Regions from separate parts of the Homo sapiens genome. Here all the other regions are linked to region 6. Evidence: promoter capture Hi-C in 16 types of primary human blood cells and fetal thymus (Javierre and others, 2016). All regions are on one chromosome and are shown on one strand. The core of a region is centred on a gene start or on the middle of the fragment in contact, and the rest is flanking DNA. Distances in the headings are between cores, read along the strand shown.

Region 1 (2,700 bases), core at 38-2,537, 890 kb before region 6:
TTTTTTGGTTTTCTGCAGGGAAGCGGAGAGAATGGTGCCATCTTGCATCCCTGGGAACTTTGCCTAGTGGAAGAGTGAATGATATTCTGCTGAGGGAGATTTCCCCTATGACCGCCCTCTCCCTCAGTGAACACTTGTGTGATCACTGCTGTTGATCATAAAGAGAATCGAACTAATACAAAGGAAAAAACAGTCCCATAATATATTGTGAGCAAAACAAATTGCTGAATAAAGTACAATATCAACTTAGATTGCCTGGGACATTTCGTTGTTATTAGGATACAAAAAGACTCCCTTTTCAGAGGTAGCTTTCTAAAGACAGGTCTAAAATAATCTGCTAGGGCCCGCAGTCTGAACTTTGACAATTATGCAAAATAAAGGACAAAGAAGAGATTATCAATAATAATAATTTATCAATGGGAGTGTGTTCTCTGCCTTTCAATGGGTCTTGAACCCTTCAAATGGCACTATTGTCTCCTTAGATGGAGCTGACCAGGCAACCTTCCCGGGAATCTTTGTTGCCTTCCTTGAAAAACATTTAAAACAAACAAGCCCCTTTCTCTTCCCAGAGACAGTACAAGCGATATTAATGGTTATCTACCTGTGATAAGCACAACAGTCTCATTTTACCTGACTTGAAAGGGTCATCTGTACTGTCAAGCCCAATTAACTTGTCTTACTCTCACACAAGAAAGGAAGGTTACTGAAAGGCCACATCTTGCTTTATATCTTGGCTGCTCTGGTACAATGACCTGATCAAAGGCCATCAAAGCGTCAGTCCAATAAAGCCAGATCCTGCTTTTTTAGGACACGGACATAGCGCCACACATGGGAGCTTGCAGGTTCTTACTGAAAGGCTCAGAAGCCAAGATGGAATTTTATATAAATAGGGTCTCCCAGAGGTTGAGAGAGGCACTAGGCTACTTCCCAATTTTATAATGAGGTTATAAAAAATGTGATATATTTTAAATGTTCACTGTTAATGAATTAATGCTTTAAGTACATAATTAATGCAATATAATTGGGCTTTTCATAAAATAATTACATGACTTATAAAAAGTATTTAATTTAAAGTGCACTATAGGCAGGATGCCTGTAATGGGACAGAAGCTTATAACTGAATGATAAATATCTTCTGTCAATCATGCGTATGTATCTGTGAGACTCCCTTTGGGGAAAATCACCAAAAGCTCACATTTGAAGTCCTGGGTGAATGGGAAGCCTGAGTAAATTCCCAGTCAATGACTGAACTGTCACCCCTGAGATAAGTTCTATTTGCATGTTTCAAGCAGGTCACAAAACTCTTTACTTGTCTGTTCCACAGATCCTGTGTCAGTGCTACAAATCTATTGGATACTCAAATGTCTGTTGGTATACTTGGTTCTGTTCCACAGAATTCTAATGCTAGAAACAAACAAACAAACAAACAAAAAAACCTTATTTATTTCTTTTCCTGTTTCTAGGAAAGCTTGACTCGACATCATTGCCCTAGGTGCCTATCTACATGAGTGCCAGTGTGATTCTTGCTTCCTTTAATGGTTCATTTTGAGGTTTATAAGTACAATTTTTTGAAACAAAATTAAATGAGACTGGGATTATTTGATTTGGAAAGAAAGGAATTTGACAGGGTTCCCAGATGTTCCATATGGATGGGATTCTTCTGTTTTTAAAAGAACAACAACACACACACACACACTCACACACACTCACTTGCTGACATGCACTCACACATGTAGTATTTGTGCCCAGATTAGACACTACAGTGCATTACCGTTAACACAAATTTTGTCAAAATATGTACCAAATTCTGGCAAACCTAGCAAAGATGAACAGTGATAAACATCTTCAAGTATCTATACATCCTCTGGATAAAGTTTAAAACCAGATTTGTCTACATTTCTACTATGAATATAAAGGAATAAATAGATTTAAACTAGGTTAGACCAGGAATTGATTTTAGACAGGAGAACGGTTAAACTTCAGAATATATTGCCAAGAAAATTTGTGGAGGTGTATCCTCTGATGGGATGAAAATCTTAAAATCAAAACAAGGCAATTTCCTCTGATGTAAGTGATTTTTTTTTTTTTTTTTTTTTTTTTTGAGACAGAGCCTCAGTCCGTTGCCCAGTCTGGAGTGCAGTGGCACAATCTTGGCTCACTGAAACCTCCACCTCCTGGGTTCAAGCAATTCTCCTGCCTCAGTCTCCAGAGCAGCTGGGACCACAGGTGCCCACCACCATGCCCAGCTAATTTTTGTATTTTTTGTAGAGATGGGGTTTCACCATGTTGTCCAGGCTGATCTCAAACTCCTTAGCTCAAGTGATCCACCCTCCTTGGCCTCCCACAGTGCTGAAATTACAGGCCTGAGCCACTGCACCCGTACTGATGTAAGTGATTTGATTGTTTCTCTGATACAGAAGAGGAATAAATGAGGAAAAATCATTAAGTTCTTTTAGAATTTTTAAAGTATATTTATATTCTACAATTTTATAATTAAATTTAACTTTCTTGAAATATCTCTAATAACCTATTTTTTTGTGGGGAGAAGGGAGAGGGCCACTCCTTTCTGAAGATTCTCAACTCAACTGTATAGGCTGAGTCATGACTTGAATTTTAAAAATACGTTTGAATGTATTCGTTTTTTTTAAATCAGGTCAGAGTTTGAGTTCTGGTGTCCTGAGGCATTTTGGAAATGAAAGT
Region 2 (2,700 bases), core at 144-2,643, 860 kb before region 6:
GTACCCCCTGTTTTCCAGCCTCCAAGAGCAATTTCTTCACTGCCCTTACTGTCTTCACTAATAGTCTTCCTGAAGCTTTTCCAGCTTCTATCTGGTCCCAAAGTCAATGTCACTGATTTTAGGTTTTTGTTATCTCAGCACTGCACTTGTAGGAACCAAGTTCTATCACATTTGTCTATTGCTATGTTACAAGGATCCTCAAAACTTAATAGCTTAAAGCAATAGCAATGTATTATTTCTCACAGTTATGGGGGCTGACCAAGCTGTTCTTTTGACTCATATCGTATCGGCTAGGGCTGCAACCATCTGGGCTTAACTGAGCTAGTGTCTTGGCAGAGACAGATGTAAGGTTGGGTTCAGCTAGGAACTGGGGATGACGACATCTCTTCTCCATTAAGGTCTCTTCATATAGTGTCTCTACATGGTCCTGCCAGCATGGTAGCTGAATTTCTACATGGTAGCTTACGGTTCACTGAAGTGCAAATACAGAAGCTGCCAGTCCTGGATGGGGCACAGTGTTACTTCCACTGCACTCTATTGGTTAAAGTGAGTCACAGGTCAACCAGATTCAATATGAAAGGGGGTCTACAAAAGGGAATGAATACTGGGAGGTGTGTTTCATTGGGAGCTATCTTTGAAGAACAGATACCACCTCAGATGAGGTGGGTAAAGTAGAAGGGGGCAAAGGAGCTGAGAAAATATGAAGAGAGTGATTTTCATGATGAAGCATGGAATTTAAGCTGAGTAAGGGACACTTTTAAAAAGTTGGGGGAGGGTCATTGTAAAGGTGATGGAATCACTGGGTCCTCATGGAGTTGAAAAGATTTTTATTGAGATAGGAGAGAGAGTGAACTGGAAAGTTAGGAAGAACATGGGAAGTAGGATGCTTAAAACTGGATCATGCCATGAGCAGGCGGCCGGGAGGTGGGGAGGACTGGGAAGATTTTGGTCAAAGGGTACACAATTTCTGTTAGACGGGAGGAATAAATTCAAGAGATGTATTGTATAACATGGTGACTATAGTTAAATACAATGTGTTATATATATACTTGAAAAGTGCTGAGAGATTTTAAGTGTTCTCATCACAAATGATAGGGATGTGAGGTAATGCATATGTTAATTAGGTTGATTTAGCCATTCTGTAATGTATAGGTATTTAAAAACATCATGTTGTACACTATAAACCTATACAATTTTTATTTGTAATTAAAAAATTAAAATAATCAAATTGAATAGTTTTTTTTCTTTGGGGAAAAAAAGATTATGGAGGAGTTGTAGGTATTGATGATGCCAAAGTCTAAGGCAGGGGAACATCCCTGGCATCCCTTCAAGAGTGTATAAAAATTACCAGTGCCTGGGCTTCTTTCCAGACCAATGAAATCAGAATCTCTGTGGTGGGTCTGAATTGTTTTTTTTGTTTTTTTTTTTTAGCTTGCCAGGTGATTCTAGCATCCATCTAGGGCTGAGGAACAGTTATCGTAAGTAAGTCATTTATGAAATGCCTACCACAGTGTGTGCCAAGCACTACCGTGAATCCTTTTTACATCCCCTCACTTTGTATTCACTAAGTTCTGTGAGATACAACTATTCTTATCTCCATTTCACAGATGAGGAAACTGAGGCTTAGGGAGATTAATCAGGTCCACCTGACATCAAAGCCATATTCTTAACCACTACTATTTTCTAATTTCTTTTTTCCAATAAATGTGTGGATTTTGGGGCAAATCAAGGATATTTTTACAAATTCTTAGAAATGCACTTAATGTCTGCTCCTTAAGCAAGCGTTTCTGCATATTGATCATATATTATTATTTCTTTAGACAGATTTTGAATTATGACCAGCTGATGTCACTTTATTATTAGTTCAAACCTCATGGTATCTGAACCCAATTAGACAGAAGGGATGCCATGGGCATCCTCACAGTCCACGGGCTGTTAGAGGAAATCTGAAAACAATATTTTGTACTTCTCTATCTACCCTTTACTCATTTAGAGTAATCCATGCAAGGCATTTTTAGAAAGTAAAATTTGGAGAGAATTTTAGATCAGAAAAGTGAAAACTGTCAGGTGCTTAGGTAAGAATTAAATTTGACGCGGATAGTCAAATAGCGGACTCTTTGGAGAGTATAGTCACTCAAATCACAAGCCAGAAGTGTCATTTGATATTAAAATTTTCACTTAGAAAGACCAAGTATCTAAACGTTTTGACAGACAAGGAAGGACATTTCATCTTACAAGTGTCCCTCTGGTAATCTATTGCATACCCTTTTTTACTATTAAGACTTGGCTCTAATTCTCCTCCCTCTAAGAAACTTTTCTGATATGCCATACTCCACCTTGGCTACCCCCTCATGTTCTGTCCATTCATATTTATGCCAAAAATTGTTCTGATGCCAGTTAATCTATAGTTTGTATGTTTCTCCAATGAAACTACAAACTTCTTGAGGTCAGAGACCCTATATCCTTCTTCTTTTTTTTTTTAACTTTCACGCTGCAATGCCCGATATGCTGGGCATGTGGTTGATACTTGACTAATAAATAAGTGTTGGATGAATGAACTATTACTCAACTGGGGACCTTAGAAATATTCCTACTGAAGGTAGCACCAGGAAAGAACAGCTGGATTTTCACGCATGTAACTTTATTTAGCCGTGGCAATAACTCTGTGACAGTGGTGTTATTAATATTACCACTCAATAG
Region 3 (2,700 bases), core at 2-2,501, 790 kb after region 6:
GAGGCAGGAGAATCACTTGAACCCAGGAGGCGTAGGATGCACTGAGCCGAGATTGTGCCACTGCATTCTAGCCTGGGTGACAGAGTGAGACTGCATCTCAGAAAAAAAAAAAGAGAGAGATAACACATACACATCCCTATAAACACCCCTAAAAAGATACAGAATAGGTTTCCCATTCCAAAGAGTAATTCTACAATTAATTCCCCAAGCTTACCTTAGCCAATGATGGGAACAATACAATTAGGTTAGCAACCAAAACCTATCACTTAACACCAAAATTAAGCACCAGGCCAGGCGCGATGGCTTACACCTGTAATCCTAACACTTTGGGAGGCTGAGGCCGGTGGATCACTTGAGGTCAGGAGTTCAAGACCAACCTGGCCAATAAGGTGAAACCCCATCTCTACTAAAAATACAAAAATTAGATGGGTGTGGTGCCACGCACCTGTAATCCCAGTTACTTGGGAGGCTGAGGCAGGAGAATCACTTGAACCCAGGAGATGGATGTTGCAGTGGGCCGAGATCGCGCCACTGCACTCCAGCCTGGGCACCAGAGTGAGACTCCGTTTCAAAAAAAAAAAAAAAAAAAAAAAAATTAAGCACCAGGAAAAAAACACTACATCCCAGCCTCCCATATACAAACACCAAATCATTTTTGCTGGTTGGCTAGCGACCTTCATACTCTATGCTTCTACATTATACAATTTGAGGTCTTTAAACTTTTCATCATGGTGTCAATACAATTCATATAAACATGCTGTTTTCCTTCTCATTGTTTCCAGGGACTTTCTAGGCAGCGCTAAAAAGTAGCAGGTGAGACATTAATATAGGATATTACATTTTCACCTAATCAAACCTGTGTCAGGGCTCACTCCAATTTTTCTCTTTGTAATTATTGGACATTCTGCTATGCTTCTGCTCACACAGGGGTGCTTAGGAGCCAAGAAAGAACCCACAGGGAGAGGATGTAAAGAAAATGTGTCAATATGGCACCTGTTAATAGATTGTTGGGATGCTGACTGTCTCATCTGCCAGTTCCTAACCAGCCTATCGTCTTGCTGGGCATGGAGAAGGTAGGCGGAATCACATAAAACTTTCCCATTATATTAGTTCTTCAGCAAGAAGATGGCATCTCTGGTATCAACAACAACAAAAAAAAACGCTGGGCGTGGTGGTACACGTCTGTAATCCCAGCACTTTGGGAGGCCGAAGCTGGCGAATGACCTGAGGTCGGGAGTTCGAGACCAGCCTGACCAACATGCAGAAATCCCCTCTCTACTAAAAATACAAAACTAGCCGGGCATGGTGGCGCGCGCCTATAATCCCAGTTACTTGGGAGGCTGAGGCAGGAGAATCACTTGAACCCAGGAGGCAGAGGTTGCGGTGAGCCAAGATCAGACCATTGCAATCCAGCCTGGGCAACAAGAGCAAAACTCTGTCTCAAGAAAAAAAAAAAAAAAAGAAAGGCTGGGCGCGGTGGCTCACGCCTGTAATCCCAACATTTTGGGAGGCCAAGGTGAGCGGATCATGAGGTCAGGAGATTGAGACCATCCTGGCTAACACGGTGAAAGCCCGTCTCTATTAAAAATACAAAAAATTAGCCGGGAGTGGTGGCACGCGCCTGTAGTCCCAGCTACTCGGGAGGCTGTGGCAGGAAAATCCCTTGAACCTGGGAGGCGGAAGTTGCAGCGAGAAGAGATCACGCCACTGCACTACAGCCTGGTGATAGAGCGAGACTCTGTCTAAAAAAAAAAAGCACGGTGGCTCATGCCTGTGATCCCAACACTTTGGGAGGCCAGGCAGGCAGATCACCTGAGGTCCGGAAACCAGCCTGGGCAACATGGTGAAACTCCGTCTCTACTACAAATACAAACATTAGCAAGGCATGGTGGCACATGGACTGTAATCCCAGCTACTCCGTGAGGCTGAGGCAGGAAAATCGCTTGAACCCGGGAGGCAGACGTTGCAGTGAGCAGAGATCAAGCCACTGCACTCCAGCCCGGGTGACAGAGCGAGACTCCGTCTCAAAAAAAAAAAAAAAACAAAAAAAAAACTCATGTTCCATGACAGGAGGTTGATGTGACAGATTTCAAGGGCCACACAGACACCAGCTAACCCAGCAGCAGCAACTGGCGCTCTGGCTCCATCTTTCCTCTAGAATCCAAGAGGCTCTCTCCATTCATTTAGGAAATACGCACTGAACGCCTACTAAGTTATGAGACACCGGGTTAGAGGCTGGGGATGTGAAACTGTGAGGGAGATAAAAAATCTTGCCCAAGTCCCAGTACCGAGGAAAGCTTGACAGGCTCTTGTATGGTAGTATAAAGCCAATATCTAGGGATGAATGGTTTAAAAAAAAAAGAGAGAAAAACGGACTGCAAGGGTGGAAGTGGGGAGCGGGTAACAAGAGAAAGTCCTCCATCCCAGCCGTTTATATACCTGGCTACCTGAAGGACTCAGTTCCTTACCTCAGTTTCCTGCAACCGTAGCTTTCTGGCACTATGCCACGCTGCCCTGTGGCATGTTTACTATTTGTATTCAACCATTCAAAAGTTACTTTAAGGAGATGAACTGCACATTTCCAACTCTAGTGAGTAACCTTGTTCCTCCCGGCACTCTTGTCGAGTTAGCGTTTACGTGCAGAATTCTTCCAGAAAGACCACCTGAGCAATCAATAAAACTTTTATCTCTGTAAAAACA
Region 4 (2,700 bases), core at 48-2,547, 830 kb before region 6:
ATTTCCTGCTATACTTTTAGTTTTCAGTTACAGATTGACTGGGGACTGCCAGTATGTCTGGCCTACTGATGTTTGCTGGTAGATTATCCTTGTAAGAGTTACTATTGTAAGGGAGCATTTTTTAAAAAGTAAGGAAGAGTGGCAATTCAAATAAATTCCACTGCCTCACTGCTTGCCATGGTCTGACAACTATGAATACAACAGAAAGGCTCTTTTGAAACAAACTTTCTTGTTAAAAAAAAAAAAATTTGCAAATGAAACAAAGAAGCCAACAAAACAAAACAAAGCAAAACAAAAAAACACAACACCCCATGGTTGAATTTACCAACCTGAAGAGTTCAGACGTTGCCCAAGTCAGGGACTGGTAATTGACATCCAGTTCAGGGGTTCATTTTCCCTTTTCTCAAGATTGAATGGAACTCTCTTTTTAAAGACTTATAATTTACTGTCTAAAATTGGAACGGTGACAAATTCAAAGCAGGGTAAAAGGAAGTCTCCAAAACAATAGCACTGAAATTATCCCAGAGCTTTTTCAATTGTGAGAATTTAGTGCACCTGAGTTGCTAGACTCACTATAGTGGCAGCATGCCTAAGTGGTATATTTTTTAATCTAAATCTAAGGAGGTGACCTCTTTTGGTAGAATGAACATTGATGGTTTTTTTTTTTCTATTTTGCTGAAAATATTCTACAATATCCCAGGGATTTTCAGGGAAAGCACGCTCTATTCATAAATGAAAATAAGAGCACATATTCCAGTCCTCAGTACAAAGCTTCAAGGACCATTGTTGAGCATTGGCTATTACCAAGTACTATGCTACATGCTTTATATACATTGATTCATTTGGTCTTCACAACAGTCTGCTAGGGGTAGGTACGACTATTACTTCTATTTTACAGAGACAGAAAGAGGGAGGTTAAGTAACTGGTTTAAAGTCATCTGGCTAGTGAGTGACAGAGTCAGGATTTGAACCCCGGTATTCTAACTCTATTGCCATACTCTTAACTACTTGGCAATACCACCTCCTAAAAAAAGTGAGTGGCCTAGCTTCAAGGACATTAGGTCCTGAAGGCCTAGTAGGAATTGAGTTTTGGTGCGAAGCCACTCAGCATGTTCGATTTTAGAAATGGAACCTAGTATTCTACTGTTGAATACGAGGCAGGCCAGGTAAGTTAGGTTTCACTGCATCCTAGCTATGCGGTTGATATTCTCAATTCTATTTAGTTTTATTCCCAATCTGTCTCTGAAAATGATCGAAGTACTTACATGCAAATATACATCCTTCCTTTAGGCCTCTACAGAACTCCAGTCTCATTTCGACTGCCTTCTAAATATCCCTACTTGCTTAAGCCTTCACGCATCTCAAATACCTACACTGAGCTTCCCAGTCCCACTTCAACAGCTCTGCATTCCAACTTCTCTGTCTCCATAGTGGTGTCATTCAGTCACCCACACTCTAAACTAGCTCAGGATCAGTTTTTACTCCCCTCTTTCCCGCACTGTTTCCTGCCTCAACCCCTGCCCCAAGCAAACATGCAGTTAGTCATTAAGTCCTGCTGATTCCCTTTGCCAAATCTGTTCTTTCCGATTCCTGCTGCAACAAATCAAATTTCTAAAACCATATTTTGGAATAAATTTCCCATGAGTTGGCCCACCTTTAGGCTTGCTGTCCTGAATATAGCCACCAGATTAAAGTTGAAATTCAATGCCTTTGACAGTGTTTTTGTTTTGTTTTGTTTTTGTTTTTTTTCCTGTGCTCTTTTGTGTGCCAGGCACTAAGTTGGAGACACATCACTGAATAAACAGACAAGACTCCTGCCTTAAGGAAGCTTGCTAAAGTGTCCAAAATGACTACATAACTTCCCTGGTTAAAGCCAACCAAAGCAGTAAAGTAATATTCAAAGATTCTCTATTTCCTCAATTTAATGGCAAAATCTTGGTTTGGAAATCAAGTTCCTCCACCATTTGGCCTCACTTTCCCTTTTCCCTTGCTCTTCATCAGCAGGTGCTCAGCCTTGCACCCAATACATTCTGTTTATTCTGTTTCCCAACACAGTGATTCTCTCACCTCCCTGCCTTGCCCTTGCTGTCCTTTCTGCTGGGAATAGCTCATCTTCACACTTCTCTACACAAATATTTCTGCTTTCCACCACCGTGGAGTTGTTTGCCTCCACCACGGGGCCAGATCAGGAGATACGCATGTCCCTTACTCACTTCACTGCTGTGGTCAGGTCTTGCCCGGATCTGGGGCAGGAGGGATTTAAATAGTATATAGCCTGACACTTTGTGGTAGAGAAAGTCCCTTTGTGACAATTTAGCCTGTTCACCCCCCTCAGCTCTTGCTTTGGTTCTGAGGCCCATCTTCACCCTCAGTTCTGGTACCTGAGCCTGTGCCTCATTTCTGTTTTCTGCGTCCCTCTTAGGGACCCCTTACCTCACACGTTGAACTCAGCATCCCCTTCATATAATCCTTCCCTTAAACTCCACCCCTATGACTGAGACCCCAAGGTCCCAAAACACTTTTGCAGATTCTAACAGCCTACCTGCCTCATTGAAAACTGGAATATTATGGTTCATTCATTCACCAACAATAAATGTTTACTGGAGCCTTCCTGTATGCCAGGGCCTGACCACATAACACATGGCAAGAACTATTCCCCATTCTCATGATGCTCACTCTCTCATTGGGGTAAGTGGTTAA
Region 5 (2,972 bases), core at 414-2,913, 900 kb before region 6:
TGGCACATATACACCATGGAATACTATGCAGCCATAAAAAAGGATGAGTTCATGTCCTTTGTAGGGACATGGATGAAGCTGGAAAGCATCATTCTCAGCAAACTATAGCAAGGACAAAAAACCAAACACCGCATATTCTCACTCACAGGTGGGAATTGAACAATGAGAACACTTGGACAAAGGAAGGGGAACATCACACACCGGGGCTTGTCGTGGGGTTGGGGGTGGGGAGAGGGATAGCATTAGGAGATATACCTAATGTAAATAACGAGTTAATGGGTGCAGCACATCAACATGGCACATGTATACATATGTAACAAATCTGCACGTTGTGCACATGTACCCTAGAACTTAAAGTATAATTAAAAAAATAAAAGAAAAAGTACTTAATTTCACTAGGAATCAGGGAAATGCACATTTAAACCACAGTGTGGTATCATTACAGATCCACTAGATTAGAAACAATAATTCTGGGCCGGGCGTGGTGGCTACAGCTGTAATCCCAGCACTTTGGGAGGCTGAGGTGGGCAGATCAGGAGGTCAGAAGATCGAGACAATCCTGGCTAACACGGTGAACCCCGTCTCTACTAAAAATACAAAAAAGTAGCCAGGCATGGTGGCAGGCACCTGTAGTCCCAGCTACTCGGGAGGCTGAGGCAGGAGAATGGCGTGAACCCGGGAGGTGGAGTTTGCAGTGAGCGGAGATTGCACCACTGCAGTCCAGCCTCGGCAACAGAGCGAGACTCCGTCTCAAAAAAAAAAAAAAAAAAAAAAAAAAAAGATACAATAATTCCGAAAATACCAAGTATAGGGGAAGGATGTATAACAAGAGAGATTCTTCTCATGCACTTCTTGAAGGAATGTAGATTGGTAAAACCACATTGAAAAGCAGTTTTGCTTTGCCTAGTAAAGTTGAAGATTCATATATGTTACATCAGTAATCCCACTCAGGTATTTTTAAGAGAAGCTTATGGGCATGTGCACCAGGATATACATACAAGAATGTTTATGGCAGCATTTGTGCATAATAGCACCAAACTAGAAACCAAACTTATGTCCACCAATAGTAGATTGAATAAATTGTTGAGTATGTACACAATGGATTATATTATACACACTATTTTTAAATAATAACTACAGATGGTCTCCAACTTATGATGGTTTAACTTATCATTTTTTGACTTTACAATGGGTATATCTGGGTATTAAATGCATTTTTGGCTTACAATATTTTTGACTTATGACAGGTTTATCAGGAGATAACCTCATGGTAAGTTGAGGAACATCTGTATTGATATTTGCTTGACTTTAACAGAAGAAAAAGAAAAAGTAAAACTGATGGAATTGCTGAAACTTCAGATAGACTTTTCTTTAAAACTAGAGATGTTAGGCCAGGAGTGGTGGCTCATGTCTGTAATCCCAGCACTTTGGGAAGCTGAGGTGGGCAGATCACGAGGTCAAGAGATTGAGACCATCCTGGCCAACATGGTGAAAACCTGTCTCCACTAAAAATACAAAAATTAGCTGGTCGTGATGGCGCATGCCTGTAGTCCCAGCTACTTGGGAGGCTGAGGCAGGAGAATTGCTTGAACCTGGGAAGTGGAGGTTGCAGTGAGCTGAGATCGCACCACTGCAGTCCAGCCTGGCAACAGAGTGAGACTCCATCTCAAAAAAAAAAAAAAAAAAAAATCTAGAGATGTTAGTTCTCAAAAGAGCTCTTTGGAGGTAATATTATGAAAAGTAAACAGAACTGCATTTTCCTCTACTTTTTTAGGAGCATCAGTTTAATAAATAATAGTACATATAAAATCATAATGCTATAGTCTTTATGGAATGTTCTTATGTGTGTGCATGTGTGTGTTCTTACTTAAGTACAAGTTTAAACCTCAGACAGTATTTATTGATTTCTTATTTTCTGTCCACTCAGAAAGTCATGGTGGACATGGATTGTTTTAAATTCATGTTTAATTGATCTTGAATTTTCTGGCATAACCCTGGTATCAGAGATACAAGTGGTCTAAGACTACTCTGTGGGCCTGTTTTGTCAACTTATCTGTCATATAATGGAGGGGATGTTTTCTCTAGATACCCCGCTGAGCTGCTGACAATTCAAAGTTCCCTTTGGAGGTCTTGGGGACCAGAGGCTGGTCTCATTGGCCAGTTACATGTGGCAGAGGGAACGAGGGGCCCTCCTTGGAGGCAATAGGACACCCTTTAGGTTGGAGACAATACTTAAAGCCATGCTATGGGACCAAGATCCAAGAACCTGGTTAGGGTTTGAAACCTGCCAAATCTGAAAGTTCCAAAGGCAGACACCAAATTTAGGGTATGAGATCCAGAGTTTGGGGCCTGGAAAATCAAAGCTTTTGTGAATTGTGAACTGTAAAACAGAAAAGAGGGACTTGGAGAAGGTCCTGAGTAATTACTGCTCACAGAACTTAAAGCATTCACAATCTGCCATGACATGCTATTTAGGGACCAGCAAGAAAGCAAGGCACAGGTGGTTCTGCAGTAGTAAAAGCTTGAGGTGGATCACTAGTAAGCATGCTAACTGCCATGTAATGTAAGGAAATCTCCATTTTTATAGACAAAGTATTCCATAGCCTGCCAGTAGGAAAGCTCCTTTGACCCCTCACTGAGCGGTCACTCAGGTCTTCAGGATGTCTTTCTGCACACATTTCTTTCCAAGAGTTAGTGGAGTGAGGCTTCTGGGTTTATACTGGTGTCTTACAGTTGCAGTGTTTCTCAGCACTTGCCATCTACTGGCTTAAGGGACAGCAATTCTGAATGCCCCCTAGGACCTCTTTTTACAGCTTAGACTGGGCAATAAACTCAAAGAAAAAACTCACAGTAAAAATAGTTCACTTGTCCCCTTCTCTAACCCACATATGGAGACAAAACAAATTTCTCATAATATACCAACACTTTTAAAAGTGGAAGCCTAATGATTTGAATTCCAGTGGGTAAGGAAG
Region 6 (2,884 bases), core at 332-2,831:
AAAATATTCGGGGAAGGAAAAAAAAGTCAGTACTGAACATGTATAGACTCTTTTTTGTCATTATTCCCTAAACAATACACCATAACAACTATTTATACAGCATTTAAGTTGTATTGCGCATTATAAATAATGCAGAGTTGAACTAAAGATAGGAGGATGTGCATAGGTTATCTGCAAACACTACACCATTTTATATCAGGGACTTGAGCATTTGAGGACTTTGGTATCCAAGGGAGGTCCTGGAACCAATCTCCCACAGATGCCGAGGGACAGGAAAGACTGTACCTTAATTTTTGTATCAATGTCTTCTCACCCCATCCCCAAAGTGGAACTTCATGATGGCAGGGATTTTTATTCTTTTGTTTACTATTTTGTTTACTGTTTTGTCCAGTGCCTAACACATAGGAGGTACTCAGTTTGGGGGAAATTAATGAAATAAATACACACTTGAGGTGTGTGCACTATTCTAAAAATCCATATCCATACAGTTCCATTCTGTACACTTTCCCCCAATTTTAAGTAGCATATCTTTGAAGATAAAAGCACAGGCTTAAATCTGGTGTAAAATACCTCTCAATTACTACCCTGAGCACAACATCGTTATTTTCAAATTCAAAATTCAACCAGAAACTCCCTCTATGGAAATCACAAATAGTTCAGTTCAGAGCCAAGTATCCAGTTTCAAGGTCTCAGAAATTTAACAAGCCAATTCTGGAAGGCTTTGGAAGTTCAGCTACTGTCTGGTAAGTCTCCGGGTTCTGATTGCTCAAGACAGGCTGTACCTCCTCACCCCTCAGAAAAATCTAGAACCAATAGTTTCCTAGGTTCCTCAAGTTCAGGATAATTTTAAAATAATCCAAAGTACAAATGAAGTATGTAAAAGTGTCTTGCCAACAGAAAATGTCTTTGGTAGCACTAAATATTGTTATTGAGACAGGGAATATCGTAAATAGATAAATTGCTTGGAGGACATACCCACCGAGTTTGGACAGACTCACACTGCACTGTGCAATAAAGGTTTAAATAACTGTGTTCCACAAACAATTCAGGTCCTGAACTGAACTCTAGAGCCTGCGACTAGACTCTCGCTTTCCTACCTTAGTAAGCAACAGACATGTACCCCAAGAGGGACCCCGCAGGCCACACCCGCCAACCGGCCCCAGGGCTCCGGGCCGGCGTCTCGCCAACTCCACCTTGCCCGGAGGAACCACCTTCACCCGCCATCGCGGCCGGGCGGGCGCTCCTCCAGGCAACTACTCACCCCTCCTTCCTACCACACCTACCTGGCCCCTCCCCAGCCCTCCTCCTCTAGGAATTTCCTCACACAAGGTGGACACACACACGTACCCTACTCCAAGCTATGGCTCCTCCTTCCGGCTCCCCGCACTGGTGGGGACGCCCAGATTCCGCGCTCCGGTGGGGCGGCGGGGCAAGCTGCCCGCCTGACACACTGTCCTGCGGGGACGCGGTAGCAGGACTCCAGGAAGCCCGCGCAGCCGCAAAAAGCACCGGCGCGGAGGTCGGAGCTGAACCCTGCTGCACTTCCGCCCTCTGGTATCCAGCGAATACAACCGGCAACGCTGCGGAGCCCTGGCAGCGCACCACAAGTCCAGTCACCCTCGGCGCCCGGAGATGACGTCACGAGACCCCACGTGGTCCGAACTCCGCCCTCCGTGTTCTGCCTAACCCAGCAAGGAGGCCCGAGTCGCTCTTGAGCATGCGCCAACGGGGCAGTACGCTTGAACTCGCGACCAAACCTCTCCAAGTTCATAGCTTCTACCCTCTTCTGAGAATCTTGCGTCAAAGCGTAGTTATTGGGGCTTGGGGAGGTTAACTTAACAGTTCCACAAAAACAGTTTTTAAAATACTGAAACACTGCCTCCCTAGAGCTTGATCGCAACATCCCTTTCTTCCTGGCATCACACAACAGTATTAATAAAACATTAGTTTTCAAAGTACTTTCCCATCCATTTTCTTATTTGATCTTCTTCTCTACTTTGTTGGAACCACCGCAGGCATTAATAACCTAATTTAACAGAAGACTATATGAGCACTGAACCCTCCCACCCATCCAAGAGTACATATCTTTATCTTACTCTTTGTAAAAATAATTGGGGCCGGGCGCGGTGGCTCACGCCTGTAATCCCAGCACCTTGGGAGGCCGAGGCGGGCGGATCACGAGGTCAGGAGATCGAGACCATCATGGCTAACACGGTGAAACCCCGTCTCTACTAAAAATACAAAAAAAATTAGCCGGGCGCGGTGGCGGGCTTCTGTAGTCCCAGCTACTGGAGAGTCTGAGGCAGGAGAATGGCGTGAACCCGGGAGGTGGAGCTTGCAGTGAGCCAAGATAGGGCCACCGCAGTCCCGCCTGGGCGAAAGAGCGAGACTCCGTCTCAAAAAAAAAATAGTAATAATTGGTAAACTTACTAATAAAGAATCTTTGAATTGGCTCTATCCAGAAGTCTTAGCAGGCATTTAAGGTTTTTCTCTTAATTACACGTGCCTTAACGCCATGCATGTTAAGTAAGTACTGTGCTGAGACTCAAAACAGGTTCTTGATAATTGGGAACATAAGGAAAATTCTAGTAGTAGCCACAGGATTCTTTTAAAAAGAAAAATCTTCTTGGAGTTGGACTAAGTACAATGATTTTCAAATGGTAAATTACAGTACATTAGTGGGTATCTAAATCAAGTTAGGGAAGCATGCCCAGCATCTTTTTAAATGAAATAAAATAGAAAATATCAGCATGCTTCACACATGTAAAGGGTAAATATTGTGTCCCAAAATTTTTACTTCAGTATGTATGTGGTGTACACTGGATAGGAATGTGAAATACATTTCTTAGTAAGGGTAGCAGTCAGAAAAGTTTGAAAGCCACAG
Region 7 (2,894 bases), core at 104-2,603, 930 kb before region 6:
TTGCCAATCAAGTCTCTGAACCACTCCAACATTCTAGTTAAGGCTTCTTGTATAAAGCTGTTGGGAAGACTACCTCTATCTCAGATGAATTTTTTAATCTGTCTCCTTGCTTTGTTCTACAATGCCAGAAGGTAAGGGCTATTTCCTAAAGAAAACCTAGTGCTGCTCTAGTTCCAGTGTGGCTCTGGCTGGGTGAGAACAATCTCCTTGGCCCTTACAACACCGGGCTTTCCACATCTGTCCTTGTCTGATGCCAGGTCAAAGAACTCCTGGGGAAATGCACAACTGGATAAATGGGCAGGTAAGCCAGAACACTCTGTATATATTTTCATTAAACAACTGACTGAGCAAGGGACGTAAAAACAAGAGCAAGGAACATAAAACCCGACTAAAGCCTCTCCAGATGGGTCTTCATAAAGTTACCAATTTTCAATTCTGACCTCTCTAAATTTTAGCAGATTGTCACCACCGAACAACAGCTTTTCATCTTTTCTTCTCATCTGCAAGTCTTTTACGTTTTACACACCTTGAAGTGGTTATAAAATAGGCTTAAAATAACAATCTGCTTTTCCTAGCATTAAGAAATCAGAAAATTTTGAATTGTAAAGCATCTTTCAATCATGCACTTCTAGGAGCAACAGCAGGGATAAGGCTGGGTAACATGCCCAGAACCATATCAAGTTCAGAACCAGACCTGGGACTAAAGCAGTCAGCCCACCCTTTTCCCCAAACACTCATCAGAGGGGCCAGAATAGACACTTAAAAAATGTTCCTGGATTATGTTACTAAATTCAGGCATATCTAGAATTTTACACCAAGCAGCCCTATCTGCCCAGACCGGGCACCATCATCTACAGCAGATGGAAGTTATTGATCAGATATTTTTAACTAGGACAAGAAACATTCTCTCCAGGACAATTCCAGAGTTAATCCCAGGAGCCACAACTTTCCACCTCCAATTTTTTCTAAGACCATACCCTACAAATGAGGTGGATGTGTCTTATAGCCACTTCCCTTGAATCAAATTCTTCCACCTGATTTAAGTTTGCTAATCATTCTTGATCTCCTCAAGAAGCTTTAAAAATAGAGCCCTGATAAGGTACTGTACTACTTAATCCTGTTCGATATTTTACTTGTACTGTTCAACAACTCACCCACTGCCTTCAGGATAAAGTGCAGACTCGTACACACAGCAGGCAGGACCCATCAAACCTGCCCTGCTCATCTTTCCAGCCCCATGCAAATTTATCCATCTGTTGATGGTCTGGTCAGAATCGCCTTCTTGCCACCCTACAAACAAATGCAATTCCACAACAATCCAGGCCTGCATAGCTATGGCTTTACTTTAGTCACAGGATCAGGAATGTCCTTTGTCCCTTACCCAACTGGTCAACTTCCAGACTCAATTCACATAATGCCTCCCCCTCCTGATGGAAATTAGTCCCATCCTCTTCTGTGTTCTCCTCTCACCCTAAATCCTCTTCTATCAGAGTGTGAGTCCCCTGTGACAGGCCTGAATTTCCTGATAGCAACTCTCTTAAGCAATGGTCGATGGTATTGCACAAGAAGTGTCATGGCTTCCAAATTTCTGCCCAAAAAGGCAGAACTCCACCAAAATGGTCTCAACGCTCCAAAGCTTTCAGCAGGAGAGTACTGAGCATATGGCTGAAGGTGCTCAAGTGAAAGAGACAGAGAGCTACCGCAATGCCCAGCTGATGCTGGGGAGAAACAAACCCATCCTAGAAATCAAAGGCTACCATTTAAGCAAATACCTAAGTCAAGCCTAGGGCTTAGTAACCAAAACCTTAATGCAAAAAAAAAGATACTCCACCGTAAGCTATCAAGGAGCCACACAACAAGATCCAGACTGGGCCAGAGCTACATTCCCTTGGCCACGAGGCTTAGAGTTAGCATGAGTTGCTTAATGAGAAGGAACTGGAGTGTATTAAAATCCACAGTATACCCTTCCGAGTTGTTTATAATCTTTTAGACGTCTTCATAAAATCCTCACTTAAACCTTTCATGAAATATCAAACATAAATAAACAAACTGTAGGATTTAGGCACCCACAGTGGTGAAAAACTAACAAGTAACTCTAAAAACAAACTTAAAACTGCACTTATCAAACCACAGAATGGGTAATTCTTTATATTCTGATCCTCAAGAACCAGAACCAAGAGAGTCACCTGGCTTCCCATTACTAGTCTGGAACACTGCAGAGCTAGACTGTCACATGAATGAATGAATGAATGACAACATTCCTACTGCAGAAGCAAGTAAGCCCTATGGTCAGTCCAAATATTTCTCATATGAGAAAAAAGGCCCATAACAGGTAAAAGAGCTGCTAAAAGTCACCTAACTAGTGAATGACAGAACCAGAACTAGCGCTCTGGTCTTTTCATTTAGTCCAGCCTCTTTCTCCATTCCAGCAGGATCACTTTACTCCCATATTCAAAGGAAACAACCTTTAAACCACAGGAATAGAGCTTCTTGAGCTGTTAGGGTAAATTTAATAAGCAAGCAGCTGAGCAGACTGAGAAAACATGGTTACCAGATGGCCACTGGTCAAAGAAACCATGAATGAATGCATCAGTGTCACTTGGAAGTCTTAATTTAAAACAGTATGTCCTTTACTCCGAAGCGTCAGCACCCTTTACCCCAATGTAGCACGTGCTTTAAAGTAAACACTTTCTGGCATAAATTGGGAAAGTAAACAGAAAAACATTAAAACTGTATCACACAAATACATACTTATTCTGATTATATTTTAAGTAATCTGAGAAATGTAGCTATTAGTAAGAGAATCACGGCCACAACATGTGGATGCAATCCAGTTCCTAAGTCGTCAAATTCACGTTTACACAAAAAAGGTGTCTGCCCAGAATTCCGCCTAC

Evidence for each region. The method cuts DNA at HindIII sites, captures the fragments that hold promoters and counts their contacts. A CHiCAGO score of 5 or more calls a contact.
Region 1: a fragment that was not itself captured here is called in contact with the fragment with the promoter of ATG5 in region 6 in 1 of 17 cell types (M2 macrophages); the score reaches 5.1 in M2 macrophages.
Region 2: a contact is called between a fragment that was not itself captured here and the fragment with the promoter of ATG5 in region 6, in 1 of 17 cell types (endothelial precursors). The highest score is 5.3, in endothelial precursors.
Region 3: a fragment that was not itself captured here is called in contact with the fragment with the promoter of ATG5 in region 6 in 2 of 17 cell types (neutrophils and total B cells); the score reaches 6.7 in neutrophils.
Region 4: a fragment that was not itself captured here is called in contact with the fragment with the promoter of ATG5 in region 6 in 1 of 17 cell types (endothelial precursors); the score reaches 7.8 in endothelial precursors.
Region 5: a contact is called between a fragment that was not itself captured here and the fragment with the promoter of ATG5 in region 6, in 4 of 17 cell types (fetal thymus, total CD4 T cells, naive CD4 T cells and 1 more). The highest score is 5.9, in fetal thymus.
Region 7: a fragment that was not itself captured here is called in contact with the fragment with the promoter of ATG5 in region 6 in 3 of 17 cell types (total CD4 T cells, activated CD4 T cells and non-activated CD4 T cells); the score reaches 6.0 in total CD4 T cells.

The regions. Positions count from the first base shown.
Region 1 is chr6:105,438,997-105,441,696 of GRCh38, forward strand. No RefSeq gene overlaps it. Among named protein-coding and RNA genes, the nearest start is that of PREP, 37 kb to the left of the region's middle. The HindIII fragment of the contact is 358 bases long and covers 1,109-1,466 here.
Region 2 is chr6:105,466,243-105,468,942 of GRCh38, forward strand. All of the region lies in intron 1 of LOC105377921 (a long non-coding RNA gene), which reads left to right. Among named protein-coding and RNA genes, the nearest start is that of PREP, 65 kb to the left of the region's middle. The HindIII fragment of the contact is 2,640 bases long and covers 74-2,700 here.
Region 3 is chr6:107,111,412-107,114,111 of GRCh38, forward strand. The region is part of intron 1 of BEND3 (BEN domain containing 3); the gene reads right to left. Among named protein-coding and RNA genes, the nearest start is that of BEND3, 2.8 kb to the right of the region's middle. The HindIII fragment of the contact is 2,088 bases long and covers 208-2,295 here.
Region 4 is chr6:105,493,472-105,496,171 of GRCh38, forward strand. No RefSeq gene overlaps it. Among named protein-coding and RNA genes, the nearest start is that of PREP, 92 kb to the left of the region's middle. RefSeq lists an enhancer at 2,105-2,174. The HindIII fragment of the contact is 1,057 bases long and covers 770-1,826 here.
Region 5 is chr6:105,420,779-105,423,750 of GRCh38, forward strand. No RefSeq gene overlaps it. Among named protein-coding and RNA genes, the nearest start is that of PREP, 19 kb to the left of the region's middle. The HindIII fragment of the contact is 1,396 bases long and covers 966-2,361 here.
Region 6 is chr6:106,324,179-106,327,062 of GRCh38, forward strand. ATG5 (autophagy related 5) reads right to left here and starts at 1,582. Exons shown (of 8, transcript NM_004849.4): 1 at 1,348-1,582. RefSeq lists enhancers at 1,392-1,441, 1,462-1,781. The HindIII fragment of the contact is 6,577 bases long and covers 1-2,884 here.
Region 7 is chr6:105,399,157-105,402,050 of GRCh38, forward strand. All of the region lies in intron 1 of PREP (prolyl endopeptidase), which reads right to left. Among named protein-coding and RNA genes, the nearest start is that of PREP, 2.5 kb to the right of the region's middle. The HindIII fragment of the contact is 561 bases long and covers 1,074-1,634 here.